Regions from separate parts of the Homo sapiens genome. Here region 1 is linked to region 2. The links are contacts of gene promoters, found by promoter capture Hi-C in blood cells and fetal thymus (Javierre and others, 2016). All regions are on one chromosome and are shown on one strand. Each heading gives the region's core, a stretch centred on a gene start or on the middle of the fragment in contact. The rest is flanking DNA. Distances are from core to core; before and after follow the strand shown.

Region 1 (3,132 bases), core at 511-3,010, 590 kb before region 2:
GAAATCGTGTAATTTTTAAATAGTGGAGCTTATTTCTAGTATCCATTTGATAAATGTTTCCATATCAAATTGGAGGTTAAAAAAAAAGACTGCTAAAACTATAGAAAAAGGTCTTGCATCCTGAGAACTTGTTTGCAAAAAAAAAAAAAAGAACAAAATAAATTGTTTTAAATTCAGATAGTGAATTTAATTCCAAAAGTTGGTATATTAGTTATCTGTGCTGTGTAACAGATTATAGCATAGCTTCTATTCATTGGGAATTTAAGACTTGCTTAGCTGGGTGGTTCTGGCTCAGAGTCTTTCATGTGCCAGGATGTCAGCCACAAGCTGAGCATAGTAGCATGTGCCTGTAGTCCCAGTTACTCAGGAGGCTGAGGTGGGAGGTTCACTTAAGCCCAGGAGCCTGAGGCTGTAGAGCACTATGATTGCACCTGTGAATACCCACTGCCTTCAGCCAGGGCAACATAAGCAAGACCGCTTCACCAAAGAGAACAAAAGAAAAGATAATCAGCCAGGGCTGCAGTTATCTGAAGGCTGAACTGAAGCAGCCTGGAGAATCTACTTCCAGGATAACTCACCCCCATGGCAGTTGACAGAAAACTGCAGGTGCTCATTGGCTGTTGGTAAGAGGACATAGTTTCTCACCACCGGACCTTGCCACAGACTGCTTGTGTGTTTCCATGACATGGTAGCTATCTTCCCCCAGAGAGAGCACTTTCAGACAGAGCAAGCAGGCAGCTATAGTGCCTTTTATGACCAGTCCTTCAAAGTCATCATACGTGCCACCTTCACATTTTTTTCTATAGAGGTGAGGCATTGAGCTTAGCCTGCACTTGGGGTGGGGAATTAGTCTCCACCTTTTGAAGGGAGTATCAAAGAATCTATGAAGGTTTTTAAAACCACCAATGTTGGCCTAAAAGGGACATGGGATCTATTCAGATTTCCCCCAAATCTTCAAAACTTTCTATAAGTTTACATCGGATCCTAAAGTATCCAAATCAAATTTTTAGAATGCAGACCACTGAAGGTCAAATGTAGAATCATAGCATTTTGAGCTGGAAGGGATCTGGTTTTTCATTTATGCAAATGAGAAAACAAAGGCGAAGAGGTTGCATGACAGTAGTAGTTGTAATGTCTGTGTGTGTTGTTGGTATTATATTAGCACAAACACCTCAGATCTCTGGACTTTTAGATAGATGCCCCTGTTGTACTGAGGATAATGTCCTTGATTTTCTGCATTGGAACTTGGGATTTGATTTTCCCTTCCTTTCTTTTTTGTGTGGAGAACTGGGAACTAGGGCATCAACACTAACTACACAATTATCCTCTGGTTCTGTCTTCTCTACAGCTGAAGGAAGAATTTTAATGCAAACATAACTTTTCCCCTCACTTCTAAGAAGCTGACTATTACTCTTCCAGGAGAGATTTAGTGAGATTATGCTGTGTTCCTTGATATGGCAAAATTCCAGGCAAATGTGTGAAGGAGTGAGCCCTAGTACCATATGGAATCTACAAAGACTTGCGTTGCTGCTGCCACCTTGAAACACTTAAGTGGGTTTCTGAAACCTCTTAAGTGTATTCCTACTTTTTTTATTTTCTTATTTTTTTTCCCGAGACGGAGTTTTGCTCTCGTTGCCCAGGCTGGAGTGCAATGGCACAATTTCAGCTCACTGCAACCTCCACCGCCCGGGTTCAAGCGATTCTCCTGCCTCAGCCTCCCGAGTAGCTGGGATTACAGGCACATGCCAACACATCTGGCTAATTTTTGTATTTTTAGTAGAGATGAGGTTTCGCCACGTTGGCCCAGCTGGTCTTGAACTCCCAACCTCAGGTGATCCACCTGCCTCGGCCTCCCAAAGTGCTAGGATTACAGGTGTGAACCACCATGCCTGGCCCATGTGTTCCTACTTTTTAAGTCTCCTTTGAAACCTGCATGAAGTTTGGTTTGATATCTTTAGAATAGTGAGGTAAAACGTGTTTTAGGAAAAATTCTTTTCCTTTTTAGGAAAAATATGAGTGATTTGACAGTTCTCAGAAAAATTAATTTTGTGACAAGACTGATTGGGGTTCTGCTTATTTTCAGCAATGCATCTTTTCTGATTCACTGCCTTTTGGCTGTTTGTCTTTACAGTTTGCCTTTGTAGTCATGACCAGTTGTCTTTACCATACCTCCCAGCCTCCTTTTTTCGTGATGAAACTCTTAGAATATTTAAAAATTTTAGCAGATAGTACACATGCAAAAAATGTTTGAGAATGTTTGTTTTCCACTTTCTAATCAAAATATCTGTTTCAGGTTTTTCTGCAGCTTGGGCAAGGCTGCCAATGCCAGATGGCACCATTTCTGAGAGAAGAGCTAGCTTTTGCTTAGAAGTAATACCCACAAACAATGCCAAATTAGCATAAGCAAATGTCAGTGAGTTAACACAAAGCCAACACTCTTTCTATCTTTTCTTTCCTTCCTAGGCCATGGGTGTTGAGAGTGACCAGGAAATTGTGCAGATGATTGGAACAGAGGAGCACGTGATGGCTGCATTTGGGCCCAGTCTGGAAGAGTGCCAGAAAGCTCAGATTTTCACACAGATGCAGGTGTGTCTTTTCATGTTGTCCTTTGCTATGAAATGGAATTGGAGACTTAATGCTGCTCATTGATAAAGCTCATCGGATGTGATGGCTTTGGGCTCATAGATTTGGGAAAGGTATTGGGGAGATATGGGAGGAGTGAAGTTTCTTTAACTCACTTTCGTCAGGTTTGGAGGAAGGAGTTTGCCCAGACAAATTAGGAGCCTATGGTGCCCGACTTAGAATAGGGGATATATGGCGAAGAGGTGTTTGTTTTGATATAATAGGAAGTACTGTTTTTTTTTCCTTATTTGCCTGAGTGATAATATACTTTTTAAACTATGGCAACTCTCGTGTACAGGTTTTGTGTGTGTGTGTGTGTGTGTGTGTGTGTGTGTGTGTGTATGTGTGCATGCATTTCTCTTTAATATCTTTTTTTATTCCCTACTTCAGTTGCTTTAGGCATCCAGTTGTATGTGGTTTCTATTTCTTTTCCTGAATTCCCAGTGCTGCTTTGGACAGCAAGGAAAACCCAGGATCAGTCCCTTTTACTGCTGCAGAGCCTTCATTGAC
Region 2 (3,020 bases), core at 515-3,014:
TACTGGTTTCTACCATGTGGTCTTTGAAGACTGTGGGCCAGATTCCATGCCCAAAATGCTCCAACTTTTAGGCCTAAGTGTCACTTTCTCAAGGAAACTTTTCTAACCTTCACGAATACATGAAGCCTCCTGTCCCCATTACATGATTTCATGGCACCATGGACTTTTACACTTGCGCACAAGTGGTACAACAGCTGCAGCTGTTCACGTGTTGTTTCTGTCTCAACACTACATGGACAGACTGGTCACCACAGTGTTCCAATGAACTGCTTCCCTATCCTTCACCCAGCTGCCTTCACTGCCTCTAGGAGGCATTCCTGGGCAGGTGGCCTTCTGTGTGCTCTTCCACAGCACCCTGCTCCGGACGCTACTGCAGCACTTATTATGCTCTTACAAGTTCTTCATTCTTCCAACCAGTAGGAATTTTGTTGCTGTTTGTTTGAAGTTCAAGCTGTGTATCAGGCATACTAGGCACAGATCTGCTAAAACAACACTTCTTCACACCTCTGTTTGGATCACAGATCAACTCAGAACCTGAGAGTCACAGACTCTCTTTCCAGAAGAAAAGACCCACGCTCACAACATTTCGCAAATGATTTTAGCAGGATTCATGGACACCCTGCAGCCCGGCCATGAATGACCTGCACTAGATTTACAAGCGTTGGGAAGGCAGGAACTGAACGGTGTTCTGCTTTATTCCCTGCACCCAGCAAAGAACTTGTTCCACAGAGAGACAAAATTAGTATTTGTCAGGTGAAACTGAGTGAACAAGTGGATGCGGTACATTAATGCAGTGGGTAAAACTGGGTTAGCAGAGCCAGACTGCCTGATTCCTGGACAACAGTTGTGTTGTGACTTGAAGAAGTTACTTCACCTCTCTGAGCCTCAGTTTGGCATCAGGAAAATGGTGATACTATCTCCTGGGTGACTGCAAAGATCAAACGAGTTAATACCATAAATCACTTAGAATATGCAGAAAACTCTTCACATATACTAAATCATTAAATCATCACAACAACTCATTTTAAAATGAGGAAACAGACGCAGGTAAAGGAACTTGCCCAAGGTTACTCAGCTAAAAAAAAAAACAAAAAACAAAAAACCGGCAGAATTTGGACTCAAACCCCACAGGTTGGCTCCAGAGTCCTGCCTGCTCTTAGCCCTGTGCCCCCACATATAGCAATGCTTTTGGTAAATGTTTGTTAAATCACAATGTGGGCTGTTCTAGGATGCTTGTTTCTTAAGCATTTTTGGGGAGTGAAATTCACTTCTGTAATACACAGTTATGGTTAGTATGGTCTTCTCTACACCACCACTGGTTTCAATAAAGTTCTTCTTTCGTAACACATATGCCCTGCTGCCAGTTTCAAATTGACCAACGTTTATAAGCAAGGAAAAACGAGGGTCCACGGAAGATCTCCAGGACCGATCAAAAGGCCGCACATTCACTGTGGGGCCTCCGCTTTTCCAGAGAAACCCGGCAGGCTGAGCTGAGCGTCTGGCGAGGCGTGGGGTTTTGCGGGCCCTGACCGCTGCGGCGCCGCTGGTGAGGAACACGCCCAGGAGCAGAGGAAGGGGGCGACTCACCCGTCGGCGTCAGCTCCAAGCAAGGCACAGGGAGTCCCGGGGGCCAGGCCCCGTCCTTCCCTCTCTCTCCGGCCAGCCTCCCCACAGTCCGCAGTCCCCGAGGCCTGGAGCCGGGATTTCGGTCCTCGGTCTCAAGAAGCTCCCGACAGTTCTCAGCAGCGCCAACCAGGCCATCAGTCCCTTCGCCCATGGCCAATCAGGGCTCGGGAGATGACCGCCAACCCCCGCCCCCCCAAGACACGCCCCCGCGTCCCAACGCAGCCAGTCAGAGCGCGGGACACAACTACGCGTCCCTCCCCGCACCACGAGGGCGAGTCGGAGTGGGAATCGGCTTTCCAGGCAGCCCAGCCTGTGCTGGCGGGGGCATCTGGCATTTTCACACCCTTTCCTTCCCAGCATTTTAGGAAGCGGAGTTCCAGTAGCTTTGACGCTTAGAAAATATAAGAAAAAAAAGAAGTAACAGAAACCGCTATATCTTTAAGATAGAGCCAATCACTGTTCCCAAAATAATTCAGTTAGGTAAAGAACCAACTTACAAAAGAAATGTTTAAAAAACCCCCAAAGTTCTTTGAAACACATCTGAACTCTTCCCCGCCCCCACCCTACCCCAGCAGTTAGCGACTGTCTTTAAAAGCCATTCTCCTTTCTCTCCCTCCTTGCCACCTTCACCTAAATACTCCCCTTTTCTGATAAACTGCCAAGTGGTTTCCATTCTAATTATTACCGGTGATGCCCAACCTCATACACTAAACACGTTAATTTCTCCTTAAAGCCAGGCTGAATGTCTCTCTCATTTATTTTCACATTTATCCATCCAAAAAACAAGTATTTATGGCAGGCCTGCTAAGTGCCAAGCATATTGAAACAGCAATGAGAAAATAGAGGGGGAATAAAACACATTCCCTGTCCTTATGGAGCTTACATTCTAGTGGAGGGCAGAGATATCAACAACTAATAACGTGACTAATCACACCTAGTTAAGTGTTATCGAGGACAGGGTGCCCTGAGCTGGGCCTGGTGATTCTGTTTGTGTGGAGTTGGAGTCAGGAAAACTGGTTTTCCCAGCTGGAGGTGTCTGCTGTCAGGTGTTCGTAGCACACTGTGCACAGTTCTGCCGTCGGTGGCACTGGCATACAGACTGCCCTCGCACCCTGTGGAGTGAATTCCTTGAGGCTACTGATTATTTTTTCTGTCAACAATGCTGGGCACACAGTAGGAACTCAGGAAATGTTAACTAAATCTTTGAGTCTAGTCTCACTATGCAGTTTAGGCTCAACAGGCTATATTGAGAGGAGCTCACACGTGCATTTAACTCCACTGAGTAGCAGCAAGAATCCTGGCTCCTCAAGATCACCCACCTCTGATCTCTAGGATATTCTAGAATGATCTGAGCAACTCATGTGTACAGCTGGGGGGTGTTTGTCCAGCAACTC

The links. Contacts are between HindIII fragments. The CHiCAGO score rates a contact against its expected background, and 5 or more counts as called.
Region 1: a fragment that was not itself captured here is called in contact with the fragment with the promoter of MTERF2 in region 2 in 1 of 17 cell types (naive CD8 T cells); the score reaches 5.4 in naive CD8 T cells.

What each region holds. Positions count from the first base shown.
Region 1 is chr12:106,390,568-106,393,699 of GRCh38, forward strand. It overlaps POLR3B (RNA polymerase III subunit B), which reads left to right. Exons shown (of 28, transcript NM_018082.6): 10 at 2,464-2,586. Among named protein-coding and RNA genes, the nearest start is that of POLR3B, 34 kb to the left of the region's middle. The HindIII fragment of the contact is 6,020 bases long and covers 1-3,132 here.
Region 2 is chr12:106,985,382-106,988,401 of GRCh38, forward strand. MTERF2 (mitochondrial transcription termination factor 2) reads right to left here and starts at 1,765. Exons shown (of 3, transcript NM_001033050.3): 1 at 1,588-1,765. The HindIII fragment of the contact is 15,581 bases long and covers 1-3,020 here.